Linked DNA regions of Homo sapiens: regions 2, 3, 4, 5, 6 and 7 are each linked to region 1. The links are contacts of gene promoters, found by promoter capture Hi-C in blood cells and fetal thymus (Javierre and others, 2016). All regions are on one chromosome and are shown on one strand. The core of a region is centred on a gene start or on the middle of the fragment in contact, and the rest is flanking DNA. Distances in the headings are between cores, read along the strand shown.

What was found. Contacts are between HindIII fragments. The CHiCAGO score rates a contact against its expected background, and 5 or more counts as called.
Region 2: a fragment that was not itself captured here is called in contact with the fragment with the promoter of REPS1 in region 1 in 1 of 17 cell types (megakaryocytes); the score reaches 5.9 in megakaryocytes.
Region 3: a contact is called between a fragment that was not itself captured here and the fragment with the promoter of REPS1 in region 1, in 3 of 17 cell types (fetal thymus, total CD8 T cells and non-activated CD4 T cells). The highest score is 7.8, in fetal thymus.
Region 4: a fragment that was not itself captured here is called in contact with the fragment with the promoter of REPS1 in region 1 in 12 of 17 cell types (naive CD4 T cells, total CD8 T cells, total CD4 T cells and 9 more); the score reaches 16.9 in naive CD4 T cells.
Region 5: a fragment that was not itself captured here is called in contact with the fragment with the promoter of REPS1 in region 1 in 7 of 17 cell types (naive CD4 T cells, total CD4 T cells, non-activated CD4 T cells and 4 more); the score reaches 6.4 in naive CD4 T cells.
Region 6: a fragment that was not itself captured here is called in contact with the fragment with the promoter of REPS1 in region 1 in 3 of 17 cell types (fetal thymus, total CD8 T cells and naive CD8 T cells); the score reaches 5.8 in fetal thymus.
Region 7: a fragment that was not itself captured here is called in contact with the fragment with the promoter of REPS1 in region 1 in 3 of 17 cell types (fetal thymus, naive CD4 T cells and non-activated CD4 T cells); the score reaches 7.4 in fetal thymus.

What each region holds. Positions count from the first base shown.
Region 1 is chr6:138,986,003-138,990,146 of GRCh38, reverse strand. It overlaps REPS1 (RALBP1 associated Eps domain containing 1), which reads left to right and starts at 1,894. Exons shown (of 20, transcript NM_001286611.2): 1 at 1,894-2,617. The coding sequence starts at 2,465. RefSeq lists silencers at 1,663-1,902, 2,093-2,392. The HindIII fragment of the contact is 2,634 bases long and covers 868-3,501 here.
Region 2 is chr6:138,582,964-138,587,107 of GRCh38, reverse strand. It overlaps a transcript of NHSL1 not described here. Among named protein-coding and RNA genes, the nearest start is that of NHSL1, 86 kb to the right of the region's middle. The HindIII fragment of the contact is 3,383 bases long and covers 477-3,859 here.
Region 3 is chr6:139,379,001-139,383,144 of GRCh38, reverse strand. No RefSeq gene overlaps it. Among named protein-coding and RNA genes, the nearest start is that of CITED2, 6.4 kb to the right of the region's middle. The HindIII fragment of the contact is 6,226 bases long and covers 1-4,144 here.
Region 4 is chr6:139,358,247-139,362,390 of GRCh38, reverse strand. No RefSeq gene overlaps it. Among named protein-coding and RNA genes, the nearest start is that of CITED2, 14 kb to the left of the region's middle. The HindIII fragment of the contact is 9,947 bases long and covers 1-4,144 here.
Region 5 is chr6:139,340,832-139,344,975 of GRCh38, reverse strand. No RefSeq gene overlaps it. Among named protein-coding and RNA genes, the nearest start is that of CITED2, 32 kb to the left of the region's middle. The HindIII fragment of the contact is 6,456 bases long and covers 1-4,144 here.
Region 6 is chr6:139,319,395-139,323,538 of GRCh38, reverse strand. It overlaps a transcript of TXLNB not described here. Among named protein-coding and RNA genes, the nearest start is that of TXLNB, 29 kb to the right of the region's middle. The HindIII fragment of the contact is 5,074 bases long and covers 1-4,144 here.
Region 7 is chr6:139,297,790-139,301,933 of GRCh38, reverse strand. LOC102723690 (a long non-coding RNA gene) reads right to left here. Exons shown (of 5, transcript NR_197427.1): 5 at 1-422. It also overlaps a transcript of TXLNB not described here. Among named protein-coding and RNA genes, the nearest start is that of TXLNB, 7.9 kb to the right of the region's middle. The HindIII fragment of the contact is 6,162 bases long and covers 1-4,144 here.

The sequences.
Region 1 (4,144 bases), core at 645-3,144:
GTAATCCCAGCGCTTTGGGAGGCTGAGGTGGGTGAGCCCAAGAGTTTGAGACCAGCCTGGGTAACATGGCAAAACTCTGTCTCTACAAAAGCCACATACACAAAATTTAGGTGGGCATGGTGGCCTGGGCCTGTGGTCCCAGCTACCTGGGAGGCTGAGGTGGGAGAATCACCTGAGCCTGGGAGGTCGAAGCTACAGTGAGCCAAGATTATGCCACTGCACTCCAGCCTGGGTGACAGTGGGAGACTCTGTCTCAAAAGAGAAAAAAAAGGAATTCAGATAAGGGGATAGTGCATGGTGGGATTATTTTACAGCAGCTGTTGCAGGAAGGCTGCTCTGAGGAGGTGACATATGAGCAGGGACCTGAAACCATATGAGAGAATACGCCATGCCATGGTTTGTGGAAGGACTATTTTAGATGGCAGGAACAAAGGCCCTGGGGCCGACAAGAGCTGCAAGGCCTAGGAGAGGTGGCAGAGAAAAAGATGCAAAGACAATTGTGAGCCAATCCCTACCCCATTGTGCTCTTTCTGTTTACACCTTTGGAAGGCAGCTGTCTGGGGGGGGTCTGATCACTTGCTGCAGGTGCCCTGAAAGGACACATGAGGGGCTGCTGTAGCAAACTGAAAGTCTTAGAGATGGGAAATAAGCTTAATGGATAGTATATACTTACCTTTATCAAATACTACTAGTCAAGTCAGAAGACATTGACAGGTCTAAAATCCCTTATCTTTCTTAAAAAATAGAAAGATAATAGAATGCCTGTGACTGTGTACATATTAACATTCTACAAAGACCTGGAGTGAAATGAGTAAATATTGACACTAAGTGGGATCCATAAAGGCTAGAAATAGCTTCATGCAAGCTTAGTTTAGATTTTGCCTCCAAATGAGGCAGGGCAGGTTTTACTTCCAAAGGGTTACAAAAAAAAGTCTTTGGGTTTTCAGTGCGCTTTGAATTTTGCAATTACAGATAAATGACTGGGAACCTGTAATAATTTCCTCATATGTGTCATTTATAGGATCCGCACTCTGGGAAACAACTTGTAGAAGACAAAATAAAAACCAGAACTCTGGGTAATTCTGCCTTAGCTCCCGTCTTTGAAGTATTTTATATTTGCTAAGTATAAATTCTTAAGATATTCTACTTGAAATAGCTGAAGAATCCCCTCTCTGGGACAGGTGCAGATTAAAAGAGCGCCACTCCATGATTTTCATAAAGGAGAAAATACGGAAGGCAGCCCCTGTGGGCAGCCCCGGGCCTACATGAGTTGATAGAGTTGAAGGTATAAATGTAGAGTATTAAGTTCCCAGTGACCGGAATGACCTGGTGAACAAAGAGGACAACTTTGCCAGTTTTCCCCTCTATTCAGCACATTTTGTTTCTCAGGTAAACATGGCTTGAAGCACGAGTGAGATGAAGCCTCAATGTTGGTGTCTACGTGGAGGCTTCCCGGATAGCCAGGATGTTCATAGCCCGGATGTTCATAGCCCTTCAGAACAGATGGAAATACTGCATTTATCTTCATCTGTACCGAAAAGGTACAGATAGAATGATAATAACCTGAACAAGGCTCCCCTTTCAATCCAATTATTCAGACGCTTAGGACCAGAAACTGCGAAACATAAAAACTGCAACCCGGATCTTAGTTATCTCGGTCTTAATGAGCTGCCGGCTGTTTCCCACTGCACCCCCCTTTCCGGGGGTCTTGCTGCTGAGATCTCCGCGCAGAGGGCGGCTCGGTCATCCCGCCGCCGGGCGCCGGCCACCAGGGGGCGCTGCGGCCTCCTCCCTCTCCCGGGAGCGGCCAAGCCAGCCCGGTGGGTGTTTCTCTCTCCCTCTCGCGCTCTCTCCTCCCGGCCTCACATCCGGGTCTGGAGCGCGGCCGCCGCTGTCACTGTTGGTGCGGGCGCGTCGGGGCCGGGCCGGGGCACTGTAAATGGCGGCGGAGGGAGGCGGAGCGGCGGCCACGCTCAGCCCAGATCCCCCGAAACTTTAGGTTCGAAGCCCCACAACTTTCCGGGAAGCGCTGCCGCTCCGGAGGCGTGGACGGAAGGGGAAGCCGAGGCGGGAAGTCTGGGGGAATCGGCAGGGAGCCGGGGAGACTCGAACCCGCGGCGGGGGCGGAGTCCGCCAGTGCCTCGCGCCTCCGCGGCCCCCGCCTCTTTCTCTGCACCCTCCCCGCGGCCGGAGCCGGAGCCGGAGCCGGAGCCGTAGTCGCAGCCGCAGCCGCAGCCGCGCGCCGGGCCTCGCAGGCAGCGGCGCGGCGAGCGCAGCCGGGCCCCCTCCTCGCGACCTCCGGGCCCTGTTGCTCGGGCGCACCTGGCGCGTGTGAGGCCGGGGCCGGCGTTTTCGGGAAGCTAGCAGGAGGCCGGGCCACGCGCAGCCCCTGCCGGCCCAGGTTCCTGGGGCCGGGCCCCGAGTAGTGCATGCGGGGCGGGGCGGCCGTGAGCCGGAGGCGAAGATGGAAGGCTTAACGCTGAGCGATGCGGAGCAGAAATACTATTCAGATCTCTTCTCCTACTGCGACATTGAGAGCACCAAGAAGGTGGTGGTCAACGGGCGGGTGCTGGAGCTGTTCCGGGCCGCGCAGCTGCCGAACGACGTGGTCCTACAGGTAACGTCGCGTCCCGGGGCCGGCGGGCGGCTTAGGCCTGCAGTCACTGGCCTCCAGGAGTGGGAGTGGGCGCCGATTCCTTGGGGCCCGGCGGGGGGCTGGTTCCTCGGGGGGTCCCCGCAGCGGGCAGGGGCCGCAGGTGCCCGGGAGGCCTGGACTCGCGCCGCGGCCAAGGGGGAGGGGGTTGCCCTTAGAGGACGGAACTCCTGTGGTGGGGGTCTGAAGAGCCTCAGCCGGTATCCCCCACGACCCTGAGAATCTGTGCTCTGTACTGCAAGAGCTATCTCACTTGAAGGATCTTAGGTTGTTAATGTGTGTGAATCCTAGAACCTGGCATATAGAGAGCTTTTCGGATCCTGCAGAGTAGTAAAGTTATCAGTATGGGCAAAATGGTTTTTTTAATTCTTGGATTAACCGAGAAGACGTGATAAAGTGAGTTCTATAGATTTAGGAATCGAAGAAGCAGTTTTTTTAAAGGAAGCAAAATTCTTAGGGAAATTTTTTAAAATGTGAACTACTTAGTAGTTTTACAAGTAGGCATACAAGAAGTTGTAATTATCTGTAGAACGTGTGTATGTGATGAGACTGAACAATGTTTTTCAACAGGCATTCGAAAGCATTTGTGGAACTTGTGGATTTGGGTTGGGAGATGAGTATTGAACAGCTGGTAGGCAGAAGTGCGTTATTTGCCCTAATCTGAAGCCCTGGAGGAGCAAACCCTGTAGGTTTAAAGCCTTTTTTTATCATATCTGCTTTTGAAACAGAGGACTTCCTAGAAGTTCTTATCTAATGTATGTGGTGAGCATTAATGCTACTCTGTTTAATGATTCATAGCTGCTAGTAGGAGTCTGTCTAAACAGTATGTTAGGAACAGGTTTTAAGCTTTCATCTTTTATATTGATCCAAGCTAGTTATCCACATCTCCAAAATTTAAAGCCACATGTATAGGTGTATGTAGTGGACTGCAAAGCATTGGACCAGGGTTTTGAAGGCTGGGTCCTTGACCCTACTCTGCTGTTAACCAGCAGTGTGACTTTGGGTCAGGCACTTTCCATTTTCAAGCATAAGTATGTTCATCCACAGAATGAAGGCAAGTTTCTTCCAACAAAAATTCTGTGAAGAATAAAAATGTCCACACACAGGTCTCTGTTTTAGAAGTTAAGTCTGCATTAACTATGACTAAGTTGAACGAGTTCGATCTTTTTAAATGGTCTTGTGTTTTACATTGCTTTTTTAAAGGTGGGATGTCTTACGTGCCAGTGAAGGGCAACGAGGAGTCCCAAATTCATCCTGTTGAAAAGGGACAAATAGTAAATATTTTGGGCTTTGCTGGCCACATATGCTCTCTGTTGCATATTCTTCTTCTTGTGTTTACAAAACACAAAAATGTAAAGCCATTCTTAGCTCAGGGAGATACAAAACAAAGCCTGTGGTCTGCTAACGAAGGGTGCTGGTAGTGTGGTCTATGGTACTCTCCTGTTACAGCTTTGGAGTAGGACTTAGAGATCTGGTCAGAACATGCTCATT
Region 2 (4,144 bases), core at 919-3,418, 400 kb after region 1:
CCAGTTACTCGAGAGGTTGAGACAGGAGAATCGCTTGAACCTAGGGGGCGGAGGTTGCAGTGAGCGGAGATTGTACCGCTGCACTCCAACATGGATGACAGAGCGAGACTCCATCCCCACCCAAAAAAAACACACGCGCCCAACGAGAAAACTCAAACCCACTCTACCCATAACCTATTGAATAAGAACCTTTATGAAAGATGGCTCTGATGTTCAGCCATGGGTGAGAATGAAAGCACTGATGCAGTTTCAGTTGGGCCTGGCCCATCCTGTGTGGTTTGTTTTTGAGCAGCACCAGGCTGTCAAACACAGGGTACTCACAGTGTCCCAAGCCCTGTGCTTGGCTCTGGATCCTAAACCTGCACATGCTTACTGATCATCCCCTCTTTCACACTCTCCCCACTACCTTTATTAGGCTGGTGGCAGAACATTTGATGAGACTATTGATTTCTCTAGGTAGACTTTATTATGAAGCTTACCCTAGTTAAGTAAATTAGATTTTAATCTTTCCTCAGACCTCATTGTAATCTTATTTTGTAAAGGGTGTGTCTTCTGGAAGTGGCTGAGCATATATTGACATATTAATTCTTAAGTGGCTTTGTTACTTCTTAAGTGATGTTACTTACTGTACCTCAAGTGTAGGCTATACCCTGCTATAATTCCCTATGTGCTGAATAACTGATGTTGGACTATGTTATAAATTAAAGATTTTGGGCTGGGCACAATGGCTTATGCCTGTAATCCCAGCTCTTTGGGAGGCCAAGGTGGGCAGATCACTTGAGATCAGGAGTTCGAGACCAGACTGGTCAACATGGTGAAACCCTGTCATTACTAAAAATACAAAAATTAGCTGGATGTTGTGGTAGGTGCCTGTAATTCCAGCTATTTGGGAGGATGAGGCAGGAGAATCTCTTGAACCTGGATAGTGGAGGTTGCAGTGAGCCAAGATTGCACCACTGCACTCCAGCCTGGGCAAGAGCAAGACTCCATCTAAAAAAAAAAAAAAGGTTTTGACACTATTAACTTTTTCTTCTTATTTATTTGTTTTTGTTTTTAGAGTTGGGGTCTTGCTCTGTTGCCCAGGCTAGAGTGCAGTGGCACAATCACAGCTCCACTGCAACCTTGAACTCCTGGGCTCAAGTGATCCTCCTGTCTCTGGCTCCCTTGTAGCTGGAACTATAGGCATTCACCACCACACCCAGCTAATTTTTAAGTTTTTTTTTTTTTTGTAGAGACTGGGACTTGCCGTGTTTCCCTGGTCTTGAGCTTCTGGCCTCAAGCAGTCCTCCCACCTCAGCCTCCCAAAGCGCTGGGATTATAGGTGTGAGCTAACATTCCTTGCCTTTTCCCCCTATTTTGAAATGTAACTCACTTTTAACTAAGCATTTTCTTATCAACTGTAACCAGTGGTGTGTATTTTATGGAGCGATTCAGTGCCTGGTATTTTTCTTCTGTGTTCACTTTTTTTTTTCCTTAGAAAAATTACCAGTGAAACAAACTTTAGGATGGAACATAAGAGAGAGAGAAGTTTGACCAAATTTGGAGTTTTCAATTTTTTAAAATTTTTCAGTCGTTTAAAATAACTGACATTCCTTATGAGGTAAGGTAGCTATATTTGTGCTATTTTTGTAGTAATTTCCTTTAACTTGTCGGAATTTCACACTCTTCTTTGAACCATTCCTTGCCTCACATCCTTTAGTGAAGAAAAATATGCCTCACAAGTAGGTGAAATGACACAAGTTGGTCACTTTTAGAATCGTATTATTACAGGTGAGACTTGGGTGCTCACTTCTTTTCCTCATAATTCTGGCATGAGTGAAATATCTCCCTGATGGGAAATATTTTCCTGATGGGAATCTGACTCTCAATCCCAGCTCACCTCTCGCTCCCTGTACACACCAGGTGTAACTAATCATCTGCTTCCAGCCTAGCCAATCATCTGTGCTGGTCCACCAGCCACATCTATTTCAAGGACTGCTCCTGCTGTTGCTGAAAATAACCTATCAGTTACTGAGTGCTAATAATGTGCGTTTCTCACTTAGTTTTCATAACAACTCTAAGAAATAAAGGCCCGGGTGTCTGTAGCATGCCGGGGTTCAAGGAGAGAAATGAGAGCCAAGGGTGAGTACAGCTGTTAAGGCCCTGTGGTCCTTACCCACACAGGTGCATTTTGCGGCAGCTCTGTTGTAGTTCTTCCTGTGTTTCAGGGAAATGCCTGCGTGGCTGGGCTGGGAGGAGGACGATTAGGAAGGAGAATCTCTGGAACAAATGTCTCCGTCTGTGCTCGCCAGTCTCCATCAGTCCACTTCAGTCTGCCATCAGTGGAAAGGGCGTGGTGTTTACTTTGTAGAGGTACTTCGTCCTTCTTTGAAGTTCTTCGTGGTGGCATATCTTCATGGTAATAGAAGTTGTCTTGATTTAACACACCCAGTTTTGGTCCTGGGGAACAAGTGTTTCAACCTCAAATTTCCGAGTGTCTGAGTGTCTTAAGTGTTCTTTAGGCCTTTTGTTCTCTACATTTCTCCTTATTGAATAAGTTCATTACTTTAAGACTGTAACAAAAGTAATTGCACAGGGACCACTGAAGTAGTCATTATGAAATTGGATTCCCCTTCACTAAATAGCCCTTCTACTTATGGATTTTGATGACTGTCGGGAGAGTTGGCCGTGCACATGGCTGTAAAAAAGTGTAGAGCTGAAGAGAAAAACATACAAAGATAAAGTCATCTTAAATTTTTTAAGTTTTAAAAGAGTGAAATTTTAATACACAGTATGTGAGAGAAACACAAACAGCTATGCCCTTAATCAAATTTGCAATAGAGATCAATTTTTAGATATATCCAGCTGTGAAGTGTTCATTTAATTACACAAACAAGGTTGTAGGAAAAGGATCAGGTGAATTAGTTTATAAGAGATACCAAGTCTATGGTTCCTTTAGTTGCAGAGTCAGTGGAAGGTTTTTAATATTATTTTATTTATTTATTTACTTGAGATAAAATCTTGCTCTGTTGCCCAGGCTGGAGTGCAGTGGTGCATTCATAACTCACTGCAGCCTCAAACTCCTAGGCTCACATGATCTTCCTGCCTCAGCTTCCTGAGTAGCTGGGACTATAGGCGAGCACCACCGCATCCAGCTCATTTTATTTTTTGTAGAGACGAGGTGGGAGGTGGGGTGTGGGGAGTGTCTTACTTTGTTGTCCAGGCTGCTCTCCTACTCCTGGCCTCAAGTGATCCTCCCACCTTGGCCTCCCTCATATGGCAGATTGAGTTGTTGCAGTGGGGACTATAGAGTTGACAAAGCCTTAAAATATATGCTCTCTGGCTCTGTATCTAATCAAGCCAGATTAGATTATGTGGGGGAATATCAAAGGAGGTCCAGTAAAGAAACTTGAGTTCATCTGTCAGGAGAGAGTTGAACATGACGATGAACAGCATATGATGGACCAGTGCAGTTTAACAAACATCAGTTTAGTGCTTACTGTATGCCGGGTCCTGGGCACACAGTGACAGAAGCCTCAGTTCTTTCTCTTGGGTGGTTTACAGTCTGGAATGGCAAATGCATAATTTCAGATGTGACGGGTGAAGCGCAGCATCTCTCTGCGTGGGGTGTTACGGGAACACATAGCAGGGGTACCTCACATAGCCCAATCCCTGAGGTCAGGAATGGTGTTTTTGGAGCCTTTAACCCTTGGTAACTTGCCCAAGTAGGTGCCTGTGGTAGATGAGATTCAGAAATATTCACCCCCTGCCCCCACTTCCTTGGGCGAGTGGAGTTATTTCCCTTCCCCATGATGCTGGGCTTAGGCACATGACCTGCTTTGGCCAGTGGAAAGTGAGCAGCCCTCCTGCCTAGGAAGCTTCTGCAGCTGAGCTTGTGCTCTCTGGTGCCATTGCCATGGAAAAGACAGGCTTGGACTGGCCTGCTAGTCCTAGGAGGGGAAGGGACACCTGGAGGTCACCGCCAAGGTGACCAGCCATCCTTTGTACCCAGGACTGCCCCCATTTTAAAACTGCAGTTCCATGTCCCAGGAAATTCCTCATTTTCAGGCACACGGGGAGAGCCACCTTGGAGCAAAGCCACCTTCAGCCGAGTTCAGCCGAGATTCACTGCCCTGCAGATGACCCACTAGCTTGTGAGAAATTG
Region 3 (4,144 bases), core at 1,114-3,613, 390 kb before region 1:
TTATATTTCTCACAGGTTTATTTTATTCAGGACCATTAGTCTTCTATCTTTAAAAAAAAAAAAATCCGTATGTGTAAAAGAATTAAAAGCAACTTAAAGTTGTTAAATAGTGCAACAACCACTCTGACATGAGTATTTAGCTGAGAGAGTAACTACATTACTTAATGCTTGTCATCAGATGTCTACAACCAGCTCTGTGGGCTCACTCAGCACAACTCAGAGACTCTCAAACTTCCATCTTGCTGGGGTTTTTTTGTTTTGTTATTGTTTTGAGACAGGGTTTCGTTCTGTCATCCAGGCTGGAGTGCAGTGGCACAATCACAGCTCATGGCAGCCTCAAGCTCCTGGGCTCAAGTGATCCTCACGCCTCAGCCTCTCAAGTAGCTGGGATTACAAGTGTGTGCCACCATGTCTGGCTAAGTTTAAAATTTCTTTTTTTTTTTTTTTTTGAGATGGAATCTTGCTCTGTCACCAGGCTGGAGTGCAGTGACGTGATCTTGGCTCACTGCAACCTCCGCCTCCTGGATTCAAGTGATTCTCCTGCCTCAGCCTCCCAAGTAGCTGGGACCACAGGTGTGCGCCACCACGCCTGGCTAATTTTGTGTATTTTTAGTAGAGACCAGGTTTCACCATGTTAACCAGGATGGTCTCGATCTCCTGACCTTGTGATCCACCCGCCTCAGCCTCCCAAAGTTCTGAGATTACAGGTGTGAGCCACCGTGCCCAGCCTCAAATTTTTTTTTGTAGAAACAAAGTCTCTCCATGTTGCCCAGGATGGTCTCAAACTCCTGGGCTCAAGCCATCCTCTTGCCTCAGCCTCCCAAAGTGCTGGGATTAAAGACGTGAGCCACTGCACCCAGCCCCAAACTTCCATTTTGAACTGGAAAACTACTTTTAAATGATTTTAATTCCCACTGTTTTAAAAGTAGAAATTGATATAGATTCTATTACTGTCTTCTGCAATCCTATCCACCTATAATATAGAACATCAGCTGGGAAACGCTGATCTAAAAAACCACTCAACACATCTCTATTTCACTTCAGTGAAGTCTTCATAAAGACTTGGTCTGCTCCGATAATCCATACCAGTGTTTTTAAATCCTGATGGTTAGGAAGTCCTTTATGAGCAAGTCACTTAACCTCTCAGGACCTCAGATTTCTCATCTAGAAAAGGAAGGAGTTTGGATAAGATTATTTTTAAAAGTCCTACCCACACTAGAATTCTATGATTTTTATGTATTATCCAAAGCATTAGTTTTCATAACTGTTTAACATCAGAACAATATGTTTTTAAAACAAACAGAAACCCTTAATATATAAAGCACTTAAAAGTGAAGCTGAGAATACACAACATCTACAGAACACAAATTTGGAAACCACTGATCTAAAGCTCTCTTTTTAAAAACGCCTTCCTTTTTTCTTTGTCTCAGTGGAAAAGGAAAACATCTGGAAAGGATCCACCATATTAGTTTTCCTCTATGTAGACCAGAACATATGTATTAAGTCACCTGTCAGCTTTTTCTTCCCCAGATTAAATAGCCATTATAAGTCCCATTTCCCGTCCCTTTAAAAATATATTTCCTTTTTTTTTTTTCAATGAACTTTCTTTGGTTTTGGTAACTCTTTATTAAAAGGTAAAGTTGCAAACTAACCATGATCTCTCAGAAGAGCCCAGTGTAGCAAAAGGATTACTTCCAGCTCTGTCATGTGATTCTCACTCCTGATATACTCCGAGTTGTGTCCTTTTCAATAACAGCATTCCGTGGCTGCCTCTGATTCAACCAATAGCTTAGGAGGACCCGCAGTTTTGTTTTGGTTTGGTTTTTGGCTGAACTTGTTATATCTACTCAATAATTTCCCATCCAATACCCATGTAATTTGTTATTGTCCTCGTGAAGCCTCTGCAGTTTTTCTTATTGAACATAATCTTGTTTTTGATAGAGTGTTTTTCTAATTATTTAAGGTCACTGAATTTTTCTTCTGCTTTCCAACATACCTCATCCAACTTCAAAACCAATGTGAATGTTCTCTAGCTTATTGTTAAAGCTGCAGACTAAGAAAATGCCAATTATCTAAAAAAGAATCTATATGTGACGTGTGTTATATAGGCTGAATTGTACCCCCACCCAAATTCCTCTGCTGACAGCTAACTCCCGGTATCTAAGAATGTAACCATAACTAGAGATAAGGTCTTTAAAGAGGTGATTCAGTTAAAATGAGGACATTAGGGAGGGTCCTAATCCAATCTGACTGATGTCCTCATAAGAAGAGGAAATTTGGACACACGAAAGAGACACCAGGGTTTCCTGTGCACAGAGGAAAGACCATGTGAAGACACACCAGAAGCAGCCATCTGCAAGCCAAGGAGAGGGGTCCTGACACTTTGATCATGGACTTTCAGCCTCCACAACTATGAGGAAATACATTTCTGTTATTTAGGCCTCCCAGGCTGATATTTTGTTATGGCAGCCCTAGCAGCACTAGCAAACTTATACACATGCTCCTGGCTTATGATGGTTTCACAGATGATGTTTTCAACTTATAGAACGGGGTTTATCAGAGCATGACCCCATGGTAAGTCGAGAGGCATCTGTCGAAGGTTGACCTTATTCTGTGCACGACATTTTGCAGCCCCTTGGAGCTCACCTGGGAACCTCTGCCATCACAGAGAAGGTTACAGAAGAATACAAATACCCATAACTCAAGTCAGAATAGGTCAAAAAAGAAGATCTGAGTAAATTGCCCTGGAAGCACCAACGAGCCAGAATTCTTGCCATCTAGGGGATCAGGGGAGGCTAAAAAAGAGGAAATGTCATCTGAGCTGGGCCTTCAAAGACAGGCAAAATTCCAGTCATGGGCGGGAGGCGGAGAGGAAACGGGTGGCAGTCCAGGGAAACTGGACATTATGAGTGTGAACCAGGTTCACAGTACACCCATGAACCCTGTGAGAATGACCCCAGTTGTCATCAACCTATAAACAAGGTTGGCTGTTTGCAAACCTAGCTAAATATCAGAACCAACCGGGAGCTTTTAAAAAATATACAGCTCCTCAGGCCCCACTCCCAGCCTGATGAATCAAGAACTCCAGGAATGACATCCTAAAATATTTATTTTAATCAAATTCTCAAGCGGGATAGTACCAACTTCATCAATTTAAAGACCCTTTAATACAAACATTTCATTGACCTCTACGTGATAATGGCTATATTTCTCTTGAATGAAAAAATACCTAAAGACAGAAAAACTATTATGAGTTTGGTAATAATTTCAAGTGAATTTGTATTTTATGAGTTAGAACCAAGTTTACATGTTTAAAAGTGATATTCACATCTCAGTTTGACATATATACTACATGTAAGACATTATTCAGTTTGCAGATAACACCAGGTTGCATATAGGGCCTCTGTCACTATTAAATCATGTGTTAACAGACTCTCTGGCTACCTCTCTCCTCTTTTCCCTATTCCTCTCCTTCTGAGAAGGTGGCCATGTTTTTCATTGTTTTTATTTTTATTTTTAAAAGATTCTCTGAGACTCAAAGTCCTCCTTACTAAAGTGATGAAAGTAATCCCTACTCCTTACATTGAGGATTAAGTGAGCTTTGGGGTTTTGTTTCATTTTGTTGTTTTGTTTTTTGGGTTTTATTTTTTTTGAGACAAGGTCTTGCTCTGTCACCCAGGCTGGAGTGCAGTGGCACGACCTCGACCTCGACCTGCAGCCTTGACCTCCTGGGCTCAAGTAATGCTCCCACCTCAGCTTCGCGGCTTCCTGAGATGCTGGAACTACAGTCATGCACCACCATGCTCAGCTACTTTTCATATTTTTTGTAGAGTCTGGGGTTTTGCCATATTGCCTAGGCTGGTCTCAAACTTCTGGGCTTAAGCAATTCTCCCACCTCAGCCTCCCAAAGTGCTGGTGATTGTGGGCATGAGTCACTGCCCTCAGCTGAGATAATTTAAATAACGTACAAAATACAGTGCTAAATCTCACCTTCCTCCCTTCCCTAGCTGCACCACACAAGTATGAGGTCTTTCAATATATTTTTTGAAGCTGGGTCCTTCAGTCAGCCTTTTCTCAATTCAGGTTTTAGCTAAAGCCAGAGACTCACCTCTAAAAACTTGTTTCAGTCAAAAGTTCACACCAA
Region 4 (4,144 bases), core at 901-3,400, 370 kb before region 1:
AGGTCAGGAAATCAAGACCATCCTGGATAACACGGTGAAACCTCATCTCTACTAAAAATACAAAAAATTAGCCGGGCGTGGTGGCGGGCGCCTGTAGTCCCAGCTACTCAGGAGGCTGAGGCAGGAGAATGGCGTGAACCCGGGAGGCGGAGCTTGCAGTGAGCCCGGATCGCACCACTGCACTCCAGCCTGGGTGACAGAGCGAGACTCCGTCTCAAACAAACAAACAAACAAAAACTGCCTGTAAATTTTTTGACACTCATCTCATCAAAACAGCATTAGGCCTCTTCCCTGAATCTGAGGTTCACTTATGGACTCTCTTCCTGTGTAACTTTCAAGACTGAATAAGAAAACACCGCATAGCTTCCCCTTGGTTCTCTTGGGACACACGCCTCTGGAGCTCTGGGCTACAATATAAGAAGTCCAGCTACCCTGACACGGCCATGCTGTAAGGAAGCCATGCCACAGGGAAAAGCCATGTGTAGGTGCGTCCACCAGCAGCAGCAGCCAAGGTTCCCAGGTGATAGCCACTATCGACTGCCTCCAGGTGCTTCCAGGGTCCAGCTGTCGAGTGCCAGCATCTGTAGCATCTTCCCTGTGGAACCCCCAGGTATTATACGCTATGGAGCAAAGTCCTTGCACTAGCTCAGGCCAACTGAAATGGTGAATCTGGGCAGCCATGTTTATACCATAATGACCCTGTCTCCCAATGATACAGCAGATTGGACTATGGGCAAGTAGCTGTCAGGAAAGGCTAGCACATTGGCTGGCCGGGAAAACTCCAACAAAGAGACAGAGAAACTATAGTCAAAGAAAGCATGGAGGTGTTTTTAGTGAAATTATCTAATATTGACCCTGTAATGTCCTCTGGAAGCCATGCACTCATACTGAAGAGCAGAGAAACTGGTTTGCAGAAGTCAGCGGGAGAGTGGAACACATTGCCTGAACAAAGCAATAGTAAGAGACCATCTGGTGCTAAATCAAGATAGATGGAGAGGGAAGACACATCTGTCCCGGGCAACTTCCTGGTTTCCTGATTAGCACCCACCATACCCACAGTTCCTGTAAGATGTGTCTATGCCTTTTGTAATTTGTCTAACTTGAGGGATTTTGAGAATATCTATTTTATTACTCTGTGCTTTTGCACATGCTGCTCCCTCTGCCCAAAAGGCACTTCCTCATCTTCATTCCTTTGCTGAAATGTCCTTCAATACCCACCTTAAGTATCTTCTTCTCTGAGAAACTTCCTCATATACCTCCCTACTTTGCAGCACCCCTATACCTTATAAATACCTCTGTTTGTATGGATTACGTACACAGTATTACAATTATTTGATAATAAGTTTCTCTCTTCTACTTTGCAATCATATCTATTAAGAAATTTTTAGCTGCAAATAATAGAAATCCTGATTCTGGCTTAAACCATGAGAAATACATTTATTATCTGTCAAAAGTCAAGAAGGCAAGGGCAGGCTTCAGGGTTGATTAATTCACTGATCAATAATGTCCACAAAGACTCAGGCTTCTCTCATCTCTCTCCTGGGCTGTCGTCAGTGTTGGCCGCACCGTGGACCGGTGACAGGTGGCATGAGCAGAGCTCACGTGACAAGTAGGGAAAAGAAAACTTTCTCCAGAACCATCCTTTTCTTCATGTATCATGTCATGGACCAATTTCTGAACCAACCAACCACTGGGATTGGTTTTACCATGGGGTGGAATTATCACAATTGACTTAATCACCTCGGTGTGAAATGGATATTAAACTGACAACTCCATCACCAGAAGAGTTAACAGCGAAGCAGACCTTTTCTAAAATTTCTGTTTCAAGGCATAGATTTTAAGCTGTAATTGACAGGGACTCTTTTTAAAGTTTTTTTTTTTTCCAAATCTTCTTCATATAATAAAGACATATATAGCTAACAAAATTATATCATAAATCACTCAGAGAGGGTTTACTTGATTAAGGTTGAAATGTCTTCTATAAAGCAACATTTGTTAATATAAATAAATATTCTATTAAAAAGAAGTATATGGTCATTATGTCTTCATTTCTAGCCCTTCAAAATATGTTTGATATTCCCTTGTTAATATGACTAATAAGTAATTTTTCTGCACCAAGAAAATCATGTACATTTTGGCAGGTGATTAATCTCTGTGCAAAATGAACAGAATCTAATATTTATGAACAAATTACTGATAGCTATATAATCTATTTCCATAATAAATGCACTGGTCCGTATGACAAAGCCAAAAAGAATATAAAAACAGCCTGACAAGATTCAAACACGGAAGATAAGAAAACTCTAATATATGGCCGTGAACATCTTCTGTTCTGTCTACTCATTGCTTGTCCTACCCTTCCACAAAATGCCACTTTTTCACTTTAGTTACATACGTCCATGTGAAAATTCCCATAATCCTATGTGCCCTGGGCACAGTGAATGGCTAGGGGTGCCCAGATGGGCCCAGTTGAAACATTCATCACACTTTCATCTTACCCTCTGGCTGCAGCTAATTGGTCTGTGGATAACACTGACCCAACAGAAACCTTCCCACAGGAGTTAGCTTTCTTCCTTTCTTCTTCATTTTAGTAATTTTGGGGGCACAAATAGTTTTTTGTTGCACAGATGAATTATGTAGCAGTGAATTGAGATTTTAGTGCTCCCATCACCCATGTAGTGTACGTTGTACCTAATGTGTAGTTTTTTATCCCTAACCCCCCTTCCACCTTTCCTGTTCTGAGTACCTATAGTCCAATATATCACTCTGTATGCCTTTGCGTACTCACAGCTCAGCTTCCACTTATCAATGAGAACACATGGTTTTTGGTTTTCCACTCCCAAGTTACTTCACTTAGAATAATGGCCTCCAGCTTCATCCAAGTTGCTGCAAAGACATTATTTCATTCCTTTTAATGGCTGAGTAGTATTCCATGGTGTATATATACCACATTTGCTTTATCCACTCATTAGTCAAAGGGCACTTAGGCTAGTTCCACATCTTTGCAATTGTGAATTGGGCTGCTATAAACATGCACGTGCAAAGATTATTTTCATGTAATGACTTTTTTTCCTCTGGGTAGATACTCAGTAGTAGGGTTGCTGGATCAAATGGTAGATCTACTTTTAGTTCTTTAAGGAATCTCCATACTGTTTTCCATAGAGGTTGTACTAATTTACATTCCCATCAGCACTGCATAAAAGTTCCTTTTTCCCCATATCCATAGCAATATCTGTTGCTTTTGACTTTTTAATAATGGCCATTCTTGAAGGAGTAAGGTGGTATTGCACTGTGGTTTTAATTTGCATTCCTCCCCCTCCCCCAGGAGCTTTTAACTTGACAACAGAGAGATCAAGTTTTAAGTCCTCTTTAGTGATGAAACTATGAGCCTGTAAACTGCTGTTAGCCATACTTCCAGCCGTGTGAAAGAAGTGAGTGTGGGAGAATACACACTCTGTTCATCTGTATTCACACTGCTAAGAAGATATACCCAAGACTGGGTAATTTATACAGGAAAGAGATTTAATTGACTCATAGTTCAGCATGGCTGTGGAGGCCTCAGGAAACTTACAATCATGGCAGAAGAGGAAGCAAACACGTCCTTCTTCACATGGTGGCAGAGAGAACCATCAGATCTCGTGAGAACTCACTCAGCTATCACAAGAACAGCATGGAGGTAATTGCCCCCATGATTCAATGACCTCCCACCAGGTCCCTCCCACAACACATGGGGATTATGGGAACTACAATTCTAAATGAGATTTGGGTGGGGACACAGCCAAACCGTATCAACAGAAAATATGAAGAAAGAAGCAGAAACAAAAAGGTAATCTGTTACTATCTGAGTCCCTGAGGTCTAGGTGCAACTTAACCCTTCCTGAAGTTTGGTTACGAGAGACAATAAAATTTTCCCTTCCAGAACTAATTTGAATTGTGATCAAACACATGAAACAAAATTATCTTGACTAATCATACTAATACTAACACAACTTTCATCTCCACTGTATTTTGTTTGTTTGCTTGCTTGCTTTTAAATATTTTCCTGAAGTATATGTTTGGGAGGGACTTCTATTTTATGTATACTTTCAAAGTCACTTAAAAATGATCTTTTCAGGAAACAATATGAGAGATATAACATGTCTGT
Region 5 (4,144 bases), core at 1,200-3,699, 350 kb before region 1:
CCTTGGCAGAGGTGGCTGGGGTAGCTCTCAGCGAAATGCACTGAGGTCTTTTCAGGGGGAAGAGTGGGAGCTGCCTCAGCTCCACTGCAAGGCAAGCAGGAAAGCCCTTCACCTCCCAATCACACTCCTGACCCAGTGTTTCAGTTATTCAAATCAGGCAGGCACCTCTTTTCATCTGCAGGAATGTTGATGTTCTAAGTAGAGAGGGATTGTAACTCTACCACTTATGCAAGCCTGAACCTGGAGGGTGCCCTTCCTGGAGTGATGCAGTCACCCTGAAGTTTTCTAGAAAGGCTGTCTATAGGTGCACCCATGCTAAGCTCCCATAGGAGAAGTCCCAGATGTGCCTGCAGTGATGGACTAGGGGGAAAAGAAGTTCGCTTCTCCAAGACCCTTCACAAGTGCTAGGGCTGCCTGACTGTTGGGGTAGAGCTATAGACTGGTCACGTGGACGGACTCAGAACCTCCTGGTTAGCCAGGGTGCTGCATGCAATGGTGATAGCTGAGGTCACACACAAGTTTTCTCCTTCCTGGGCTCTGTGTTATTCTACCTGAGAATGCTGTAATGGACTGTGTCAGTTGGCCTCCAGCCAGGAGGTGGTGCTTGCAAAAGAGTGTCAGCTGTGGTAGTAGTGGTGGGATTTGTGCTTGCCTTATGTAACTCAGGGGAGGTATTCTAGAATCTCAGGCAATGGGTGGGTCCATAGAGCTCCCAAAAGTTTCTGTCCCTTGTGTTAAGCTACCAGGGCAAGTGGTGGAGCAAAGCCAGGTGGGGGCTGGGTCAGGCAGGTCCATGCTCTGGCTCTCCACATGCAGGGCAAATAACCCCAGTAGGAGCTGGGGGCCAGTTCTCCGGCTGCTCCGGTAATATTCCAGGAAGCAGTGCAGCTGCCTGTGTTGCACAGAAGAGTTTCACAGGGAGTGGGGAATAGCAGGCAACAGTAAGCCTACCCAGCTCCCACACGCTTAGAAAGGCAGGTGGCAGGTCGCAGGCCAGGCGCGGTGCTCATGCCTGTAATCTCAACACTTTGGGAGGCCGAGGCAGGCAGATCACGAGGTCAGGAGATTGAGACCATCCTGGCCAACATGGTGAAACCCCATCTCTACAAAAAATACAAAACTTAGCCGGGCATGATGGCACATGCCTGTAATCCCAGGTACCTGGGAGGCTAAAGCAGGAGAATTGCTTGATCCCAGGAGGCGGAGGTTATAGTAAGCCAAGATCACTCCACTGCACTCCATCCTGGGAGAAAGAGTGAGACCCCGTCTCAAAAAAAAAAAAAAGAAAAAAGAAAAGAAAAAAGAAAGGCAGGTCTCTCATACTTGCAGTGTTACACTAGCATCAGCTAGCTAAGTTCCAGGCAATCTGCACTTAAAACTCAAAACTGCCCCAGCCCATAAGCCTTCCCTGTGGAGACAGCAACAGCTGCTTTCAGGACATGCTCCTCCCAGTCCCAGCTCCTGTACTTGTGGCTATAGCACACTTCCCACTTGCCCCCAGTTCTGGCCAAGGGAGTCTGTCCCCACTTGAAATTATATCATGAATTTCAGCTAGGAGCTTCTCTCAACGTGCAACCACCACTTGAGTTAGTTGGCAGACTTCTGGGAAGTCCCTTGTGAGGTAGGACCAAAAATCACTTCCCTTAGTCTGTGCTGAAGACTGGGAATGCACACAAGGCTCTTCCCACTGCTGCCCCTGCTTTTATATGCCACATCAATCCCTAAATCAATGCCAGCACTCAGTAGGGTTAAGGCCTTCCCCCATGGACTGGATTAACTGGTTCCCCAGTGGGAGTGTATTTCCTGGAGGCAGTTTATCCCCCTTCAGATTCTGCAGACTTAGTTTTTCACCTGACTCATGGTGTAGGCTGCAGCCCACCACTTCTTTCAAAGGGCCTGTGGTTTCTTTCAGTTTTCCTGTTTAGTTCCTGTGTTGCTTCTTGGAGAAAAATTCACAGTGTGAAACACTACACACTATTGTGTCTTTCCAAGGAGGAGAAGCATGCTGACAATGTCTCCAATCTACCATCCAAGAAGAGACCAAGAGTCTTTTTAGGAATATGAAACTATCCAGCACCAAACAAGGAAAAAATCTATAATGCCCAGCATTCAATCAAGGATTACCATACATCAGGATCTCAAATCTAATAAAACACAATTTAAAGAAAGAAAATAAAAGATCACCAGTCATGAAGGAAGCAAAACACCACCCTTAATGAAGAGAAAAGTCAGTCAATTGAAAACCACCTAGATGTTAGAATTAGCAGACAAGGACATTAAAACACTTATTGTAACTGTTTTTCAAATGATCAAAAGTTAAGTAAAGACATGAAAGATATAGAGGAGACCTAAATCAAATTCTAGTGATGAAAATTTTAGAAATGAGATGAAAAATTCATTGGATGAAATTAGAAGCAAATTAGATGTTTCACAATAATGTGATTATACTTAACACCATTGTACTGCACACATAAAAATGGATAAAATGGCAAATTTTATGTAGATTCTTTTACCACTATATATACAATATATATATTTTTGAGACAAGATCTCACTCTGTCACCCAGGCTGGAGTATAGTGGCACAATCATGGCTCACTGCAACCTCAACCTCCCAAGCTCAAACAATCATCCCACCTCAACCTCCCATGTAGCTGGTACCACAGTCACATGTCACCATGCCCAGCTAATTAAAAAAAATTACAGGCACAGTGGCTCATGCCTGTAATCCCAGCACTTTGGGAGGCTGAGGTGTGTGGATCAACTGAGGGCAGGAGTTCAAGACCAACTTGGCCAACATTGTGAAACCCTGTCTCTACCAAAAATACAAAATTAGCCAGGCATGGTGGCAAGCGCCTGTAATACCAGCTATGCAGGAGGCTGAGGCAGAAGAATCACTTGAACCAGGGAGGCAGAGGTGGCAGTGAGCCGAGATTGTGCCATTGCACTCCAGCCTGGGCAACAGAACAAGACTCTGTCTCAAAAAAAAAAAAAAAAATTGTAGAGATGGGTCTCACTTTGTTGCCCAGGCTGGTCTCAAACTCCTGGGCAATCCTCCTGCCTCAACCTGCCAAAGTGGTGGGATTACAGGTGTGAGCCACCACGCCCAGCCTAAAAATATATTTAAGGGGTCAGGTGTGGTGGCTTAAGCCTGTAATCCCAGCACTTTGGGAGGCCAAGGCAGGTGGATCATGAGGTCAGGAGATCTAGACCATCCTGGCTAACATGGTGAAACCTTGTCTCCACTAAAAATACAAAAAATTAGCCGAGTGTGGTGGTGGGCACCTGTAGTCCCAGCTACTCGGGAGGCTGAGGCAGAAGAATGGCATGAACCCAGGAGGCAGAGCTTGTAGTGAGCTGAGATCACACCACTGCACTCCAGCCTGGGCGACACAGCGAGACTCCGTCTCAAAGAAAAAAAATATATATATATATAAGGAGTTTAAGAAATAGATTAGAAATTGCAGAAGAAAAGATTAGTGTATATGTGTATATGAAGACATAGCAATAGAAATTATCTAAAATTAAACAGAGAAAGAATAAACATTTAAAAAACCATGTATCACTGTGCTGTGGAAAACTTCAAGATGCCTAATATACATGTAATAGAAGTCACTGAAAAAGAAGAGAGAGGGTAACAGAAAAAAATGGGAAGAAATAATGGCCAATAATTTTCCAAATTTAATGAAAAGCATAAATCTACATATTCAAGAAGCCCAATGAACCCAAAGCACAAGAAATGTGAAGAAAACGACACTAAGGCACATCATAATTAAATTTTCCTAAACAAGTGATAGAACATTGTAAAGCAGAGAAAAACATCACAATATATTTAGGGAAACAAAGATAAGAACTATAGCAGATCTCGTATAAGAAAAAATGCAAGTGAGAAGACAGTGACACACAACATCTTTAATGTACTGACAAAAAAATTATTAAACTGTCAAACTAGAATTTTATACCAAGCAAAATATGTTTCAAGAACTAAGGTGAAATAAAGACTCTTTCACATATACAAAAGCTGAAAATATTTATCAGCAACAGACTTGCTCTATAAGAAATGTCAGGCTGGGCGTAGTGGCTCATGCCCGTAATCCCAGTGCTTTGGGAGGCCAAGGTGGGTGGATCACAAGGTCAGGCAATCA
Region 6 (4,144 bases), core at 847-3,346, 330 kb before region 1:
GGCCGAGGCGGGCGGATCACGAGGTCAGGAGATCGAGACCATCCTGGCTAATACTGTGAAACCCCCGTCTCTACTAAAAATACAAAAAATTAGCTGGGCGTGGTGGCACGCACCTGTAGTCCCAGTTACTCGGGAGGCTGAGGCAGGAGAATTGCTTGAACTCGGGAGGCGGAGATTGCAGTGAGCCTTGATCATGCCATTGCACTCCAGCCTAGGCGACAGAGCGAGACTCCGTTTCAAAAAAAAAAAAAAAAAACTAAACAAATTCTTTTTCTTGGGGTCACTATAATACATCTCTAGAGGTTTCTTGCAAACAAAAGAGCCCAAACCACACACTGAGCCCCATCCCTTCTTCATCTCGTGCAATGTCAACACCAACAAAATGATTTCCTATGTATTTAAGGAAGGATAATCATAGTCACTGGTCCAAAATGAAACTTCTTACTGAAATGACAATTGAAATTATTCCTAGTCAGTTCACAGAAATGCTAGTTTCTTATTTTAAAATGAGGACAGATCCAAAAGAGATAAAGGGATTTAGGGAAATGGACATTTAGAAAATTGATAGCCCCATGGGCCTCTGTCCTGGGGAAGCCACTATTCAATTAGCATCTGTTTATGGGGGATTCAACAGCAGGGAAAACCCAGCGAAAATGCCTGCCCCCATGCAACATACAGGCAAGAGGAGGAGACAAAGAATAAACACAGCAAATAAGTAAAATGTACAGAAAATGTGCAGTGTGTTTTTTCTACAGAAAAAGAAGGAACAAGGGGGATATAAAGCTGGGCTGGGGAGGCATCGATATTTTAGGGGAGTGGCCGGGAAGGCAGTTGTTACTAAGATAATTTGGATGAGAGGTGGTTGAACTCTGCACCGTATTGAGGATAGAACTAATGGGACTTTTGTGTTGGATCAGATGTGGGATGGAAAAGGAAGAGAGGAGTCAGGCATGAGTCCAAATTTTTGATCTGAGTAACTAAAGGATGGAGTTGCCATTTTCTATAATGGGGAAGACTGGAGGAGGAATTTCTTTAGAAGGGAGGTGGGGCCTAATGGGAGGTGTTTAGTTCATGAAGGCTCTGCTTTTATGAATGGATTAATAATGGATTAATGTCACTATGGAAAGGGCTGGCAGGAGTGGGTTCACTCTCTTCTGCTCTTCTGCCAGTGTGAGGACACAACACTTGTCCCCCCAACCCTTGCCCTTCTACCTTCTGCCATGTGAGGATGCAACAAGAAAGCCCTCATCAGATGCCAGGGTGTTGATCTTGATCTTCTCAGCCTCCAGGACGGTGTGAAATAAATGCCTGTTCTTTATAAATTACCCACTCTGTGGTATTCTGTTATAGCAGTGCAACCCAGCAGTGATAATGCCGAAGCAGAGATGTCAATAGGCTGTGAAGTCAGGCATGGTGGTGCACCTGTAGTCGCAGCTCAGAAGGATGAAGTGGGACGATTGCTGGAGGCCAGGAGTGCAAGGCTTTAATGTGCTATGATGGTGCCTGTGAATAGCTACTGCACTCCAGCCTGGGCAACATAGTAAAACTCTGCCTATCTTAAAAAAAAAAAAATTAATGAATCTGTAGTTCAAGAGAGTAGTCTGAGAGGCTGGGCGCAGTGGCTCATGCCTGTAATCCCAGCACTTTGGGAGACCGAGGCAGGCGGATCACGAGGTCAGGAGATCGAGACCATCCTGGCTAACACAATGAAACCCTGTCTCTACTAAAAATACAAAAAAATTAGCCAGGCGTGGTGGTGGGAAACTGTAGTCCCAGCTACTTGAGAGGTTGAGGCAGGAGAATGGTGTGAACCCGGGAGGTGGAGCTTGCAGTGGGCCAAGATTGTGCCACTGCACTCCAGCCTGGGCAACAGACTCCATCTCAAAAAAAAAAAAAAAAAAAAAAGAGAGAGTAGTCTGGGCTAGAGACATAAATGTAAAAGTTTTCAGAAGTCTCTGTATATGAAGTCTCCATAGATTAAAAAAAAAAAAAAAAAGGAGAGCTCAGTCATAGCCCATGTGGGCTGCTATAACAAAGTACCATAGACTGGGTATTTTATAAACAACTGAAATGTACTTCTTATAGTTCTGGAGGCCGGGAGACCCAAGATCAAGACATCAGCAGATTCAGTATCTGGTCAGAGCCCATTTTCTGATTCACAGATGGTGACTTCTCACTTTATCTTCATATGGTAGAAGGCACAAGGCAACTCTCTGGAGCCTCTTTTGTAAGGGCACGAATCCCATTCATGAAGGCTCTACCTTCATGACCCATTCACCTCCAAAAGGCCCCATCTCCTAATGCCATCATCTTGGGGGTTAGAATTACAACACCTGAATTTTGTAGGGGACACCAACATTCAGACAATAGCAAGGTCCAGTGACGGAACCCCGGGGCACTTCTACACTGACAGGCTAGTATCAGGATTCAATCCATTGGATAAGGTAGAAAACCCAAATAATAGTGTCTGAAAGAACATGGATGTCTGGAGGTGAGTATTTCAGGCCTAGCAAGCAGGTGCATGACATTAACAGGGATCTAGGTTCCTTTTACTTCTCTGCTGTGCTGTCCCAAGCCCATGGCTTTCATCTTCACAGTTGCCTTAGAGTGGAATATGGCCACTGTAGCTCTAACAAATACATCTGCTTCAGGTAAGAAGAAGGAGAAAGTGGGAAAGGGCAGAAGAGCTTTCTTAGAAGTGTTACCCAATGACTTGTGCCTATGTAGCATGGGAGAGATATAGACTCTGAAGTCACCTTGTTGAGTGAGAATCATGTCTGTACCAGTGCAGAGCTAGAAAGTCTTGAGCAAGTTGATAACTTGTCTCTGCCACAGATTTGTCTTTTGAAAATGGGAACAATCACACTGCTCACCTCTAGGTTGGTAAAAAAAAAAAATGAGATTATATGCTTAGAAAATTTTCTGCCTACAGAAAATTCCCCAAAAGTGGAGTTTTACAAATTAAGTAAATGATAATCGAAATAAAAAGGAACCCATTTGATTTCCAGTGTCTCGTCTCCAACCCAGTCCCATGAATTTGGATTTTTGGTGATGGTAATATTTTAGTGAAGGAAACTTGAGTTCACTGGCAACAGTTGTGTTCCTCTAGGACTGAAAATATCAACTCATAACGAGCTAGCAAGGAAGGCAATTGTCTCACTGATTTTGTAAATATTCCTTGTGGTTTCCAGAAATTATTTGGAAACAGAAACCTAAAGGAAGAATAGATTAGTGCTCAAAATCGATAATATGAGTAAGAATATAATGTAATTGTCTACTCCCAAATTGATGAATTAGGACCTATGTGTCATACAAAATTTTAGAAAACATATAGGCTTAGTCACCACTTAGAAGTTACTTAAGTAACTTTTATTTAAGGGAAAGAGAAGTTAGAAACCAGGCACTAATATTTATTTTAAAGAGTTAATAATTTAATACCACATTGGATTTTAATAACTTTAACAAATTATAATTTAAAACAAGATATAAAATACATATTCAATAACCACTACAAATTAAGAGATATTTCAGTTATTTATATATATATGGCCATAAGCTAAATATTTATAAAGTAGTAGAAATGTATTTTTAATAACTTTTTTTTTACTTTTTATCCACTTCACTATGCTGTGTATTGCTAATCCTTTCTAAATGTCTCATTTCCTGTTGTAATTGTTAAATACTATAAATAGTCATTTATTAATTCATGTGAAATACTCATTTAAAAGGATTTACTTGTTCTCATGTTGCTCCTTTTACTTATTTATTTTTTTAGAGACAGGGTCTCACTCTGCCACCCAGGCTGGAGTGCAGATGGCACAATCATGGCTCACTGTAGCTTTGACCTCCCAGGCTCAAGTGATCCTCCTGCCTCAGCCTCCCAAATAGCTGGTACACAGGTACATGCCACCATGCCCAGCTAATTTTTGAATTTTTTTTTGTAGAGATGGGTTCTCCCTATGTTGCCCAGGATGGTCTCAGACTTCTGAGCTCAGCCTCCCAAAGTGCTGGGGTGTGGTATAAACCACCACAGCTAGCCTTATATTGCTCCTTTAACAAAGGAGGTGTGGTCATGCCACTGCACTCCAACCTGAGTGACAGAATGAGACCCTGTCTCAAAAAAAAAAGAAAGAAAGGAAGGATG
Region 7 (4,144 bases), core at 948-3,447, 310 kb before region 1:
ATATTATCAGCCTGTCAAGGGTTCCTTGCTTTGCTTTGTTTTTGTTTTGTTTTGTTTTAGGGGACGGGACAAGTCTTTTTTTATTAATATACACAGAGTTGCTTACTAAGTACTAAATGAATACTAAAATATGTACTATGGTCAGGGGGGTGGGGATTAGTTCATTATTATCTATATCAAGTTACTGTGAAAGTAAAGGTCAGGCAGGGGAAGCATTGATTTCTGTGCATAGACTTGGTGGGGGCTTGTTGCCCCATTCTGTGTGGGGCACTAGAGTACAGCACTTTCTTCGGTGAGGACTCTGATGATTCCAAACCCATTGTATCTCAGGTGTGCTCTTCTAACCCATGGAAGACTTAGTGATCCCATCTCAAGAGCTTACTCTTTTTTCCAGACCATCTATAGAAGATTTCCTGGCAGTTCTAGAGGAAAGATATATGGAGGTTTATGGGGACTTCATAGGAAGGTAGCTTTGGAACTCAGGGGACAATGGAGGTTGCAGAGGCTTACTCACACACTCATGTCACCAGTAGCAGGTATTATTACTTTTAATAATAGTAATATTTTCACCCTAATAAGGTCATCTAAGATGTCATCTTTTGTATTTGGTGGCACTATACAGATACCCAAGAAAATTTCCCTGCAATTTTTCCTTCATATTTTTTAATGATTTTGCAACCTCTCTTGGGTATATATGAGAAAGACAACTAGGAGTTTGTCCTTTCCACAGAGACCATGATTTCGCCTAGCCATAGTTTCTGGTATCAAGGTCCCAAGTTGAGTCTAGGAACTCTATGTTCCACAAACTCAGGGGGTCCCACATCTATTTTGTTTGAACAGTGACCCCTGGAGTTAGGTAACAAGGCATCTCAGCCAGGATCCATCTACAGTTTGGGCTCCTAACTGGCACAATTCCAAATTTATACAGAATGGGGGCCCTGAAACAGTTTAAAGAAGAATAGAAGAGATGTGGTGCTTCCTTTGTAGTCCTTGAGCTTGAATTAAGGAACACACAAGGGAAGTTATTCCCTTTTTTTTTGAGATGGAGTCTCGCTGTGTCACCCATGCTGGAGCACAGTGGTGCAATCTCGGCTCACTGCAACCTCCGCCTCCCTGATTCAAGTGATTCTCCTGCTTCAGCCTCCTGAGTAGCTGGGATTACAGCCGCGTGCCACCACGCTGGCTAATTTTTGTATTTTTAGTAGAGACGCAGTTTCACCATGTTGGTCAGGCTGGTCTCGAACCCCTGGCCTTGTGATCCACCACGTCAGCCTCCCAAAGTGCTGGGATTACAGGCGTGAGCCACCGCACCCAGCTGAAGTTCTCTTCTAAGGACAAAGGAGTCATATAAGATACATTAGGAGCAGAAAGGCTCTGAAAGCCTTTCGAAAGGCAGACAGGTTCAGGTAATGGGCTCCCTTTAAGCCTATCAATGGACAATTAGCCTAGGCATCCCCTCACCATGAAAGGGAGGGAAAAAAGAGACATAATTGGGAAGATAAAGAGGCAAGGTAGCAGGAGTCTAAGCATTTGCTCACTCAGTCCCAATCCTGTTGACCATCTCTGCTGTTCCCAGGTTGCGTTGTTCTACATCCTATCAAAGCCACACCAAATTGTTACAGAGAAAAAGACCACACATAGAATTTAAAAATTAGTCCATGCTCTTTGATAAGAACTGCATTGCAAGAAGGAAGGAGAGGAGTGTCCACCAGCTCAGAACTAGGTGACCACCACACACCTGTTTTCTAACACATCAAAATGACAGGCTTTCCTTTCAACACAAGTTCAACCTTAGACCCTTCCTGAGAATTGCTTTGTGATCAGCAGGGGAGGAGGGGCTTCATGACACTCACGTAAGGGAGAGAAGAACTTCTGACCCTTAGGGAGGGGAATCAAAAGAACTTGTCATACTAGACAGAGAAGAGAAAAATGAACCTTATAGTTAGTTAGTTAGAAAACCTCAAAAAGGCTATTTGAAAGGGATGCTTTTATCAAACCTCTGAAAGGAGTCACAGTGCTTGTATGGTAAAACATCATGGATCTATCATCTTTGGAGACTTAACTATTGGCAAGTAGTACTGTCTTATTTAAAAGAGCCATTTTTTTTTTCATCAAATGTCATCTACCTAAGGACAGATCAGGGTGGCTCTAGACAGGACCTCTAAGTCCTGTCTAGTATCAAGGTCCCAAGTTGAGTCTAGGAACACTATGTTCCACAAACCCAGGGGGTCCCACATCTATTTTGTTTGAACAGTGACCCCTGGAGTTAGGTAACAAGGCATCTCAGCCAGGCATCTCCCCAAGTGGGGAGATGATCTGTGAGGTCCCTTCCCTCACCAAGATTCTGCAGACCCCACGATAGCTGGCAAACCCTAGGACAAGGAGGAATGAGAAGAGGGGAGGGAAGGAAGAAACATCCCTGTCCAGGAGGTCCCAGTCCAAAACCATGGGTGGCCTGAGGACTTCAAAGTTGGGACTATTAACAGTTGACATTTCAGTTAATCTGCATTATTGCCTTCTTCTTGCCATTAGTAAGGTTTGTTTGGGTATCTTGTGGCCAGAGTTCTTTCAGATGGGATATGTTTCCCAAGTTTCTTACAGGGAACATGAGCCAAAGGAAGCAGAATGCCACAAAAAGGGTGACATGAGCCCTTCGAGTTCAGCAACTTTTGTTCCCAGGGTTGTTGAATATTCACACGCCAGCTGGGCTTTCTTACCCATGTGCAGCAACAAGGCAATCCCTCCCCTCCCCAGGAGCAGCCAGGGGCCAGCCAATGGGAACAAGCCAATGGCAACACAGATTGTCTTAGTCTGTTTGTGTTTCAATAAAGGGACACCTGAGGCTGGGTTGTTTATTTAAAGAAGATATTTATTTGGTTCACAGTATTGCAGGCTGCATAAGACGCATGGTGCCAGCATCTCCTTCTGGGGAGAGTTTCAGGAAGTTTCCACTCATGGTGGAAGGTGAAGGGGAGCAGGCATCACATGGCAAGAGGGAGGAAGAAGGAGAGAACATGGAGGAAGGTACCAGGTGCTTTTTAGCAATCAGTTCTTGTGGAAACTAATTGAGCAAGAACTTGATTCCAAGAGACTCGCACCTAGCCATTCATGAGAGATCTGCCTCCATGACCCAAAAGCCTCCACCTCCAACACTGGGGATCAAATTTCTACATGAGACTCTGAGGGGACAAATATCCAAACTATATCACATACTTTAATCAGGACCAATCACTTGACCTTCACATCCTCTTGCTGGCATGCAGGGGTTGCAACAGTGGAGTCTGCTTTAGGGGAATGTCATTGCTGCAGCCCATAGTAGCCACTAAAATCCAACTCTACCCTCAGGGGACACTCTGCATGAACAAGTCAACATGCAGTTCTATGCTTCTGAATCTCTACTACATCCAGCAATGGGATAAGGAAGAGCTCTTCAAAGATGGGGAGGTCCAATATTCCTGCAAAATAACACACCTTATTCTGATCTTCCTTGAAGCAAATATTGACATGAGCCAAATGTCCCCTGTAGAATGCATGCAGCAATGTCATATTAATTTGAATTCAACAGAGAATTGGTATAAAGGAGCCTATCCTAGAATCTGTCTGCATTATTTATAAGAAGACTTTCATGATGAAATTGTTAATATAAAAATGTAAGAGTAATAAGGCTACTTAAGAGGTGGGGCTCTTTGCAAGTACAAGTGTAGCACCCAATATTTATACAAATTTCAAACTATTTATTTTATTTATGCAAGTCCATCTGCTCTTTACTAGAAATAATATTTGCTTGCCTAATTTTGCTGACAAGTGATAAAACAATTCTTTTCACAGGGTGGGAATCATATTTCACTTTTAGTACAAATTAAAGAGTTGTCACCATGGGAATTGAATATTGTAACTTGCTGTTTGGTTTTGTATTTGGATTAATACAAAATAATCTCTGTTTGATTACAAGCCCACATTTCCCTCCATTTTAGAAAGACAAAGGTGATGTCTGCTGAGTAGAAGCAGTATAGAATGATGCGCCCCCACCACCCCAAGCCAGATCTAGCCTAGGTCAAGAATATAAATACCACAACCAAGAGATGATACAATAGATTCCTTCAACTTGGTCCTAGGCAGCAACAATTTGAAAATGTTATTGGTG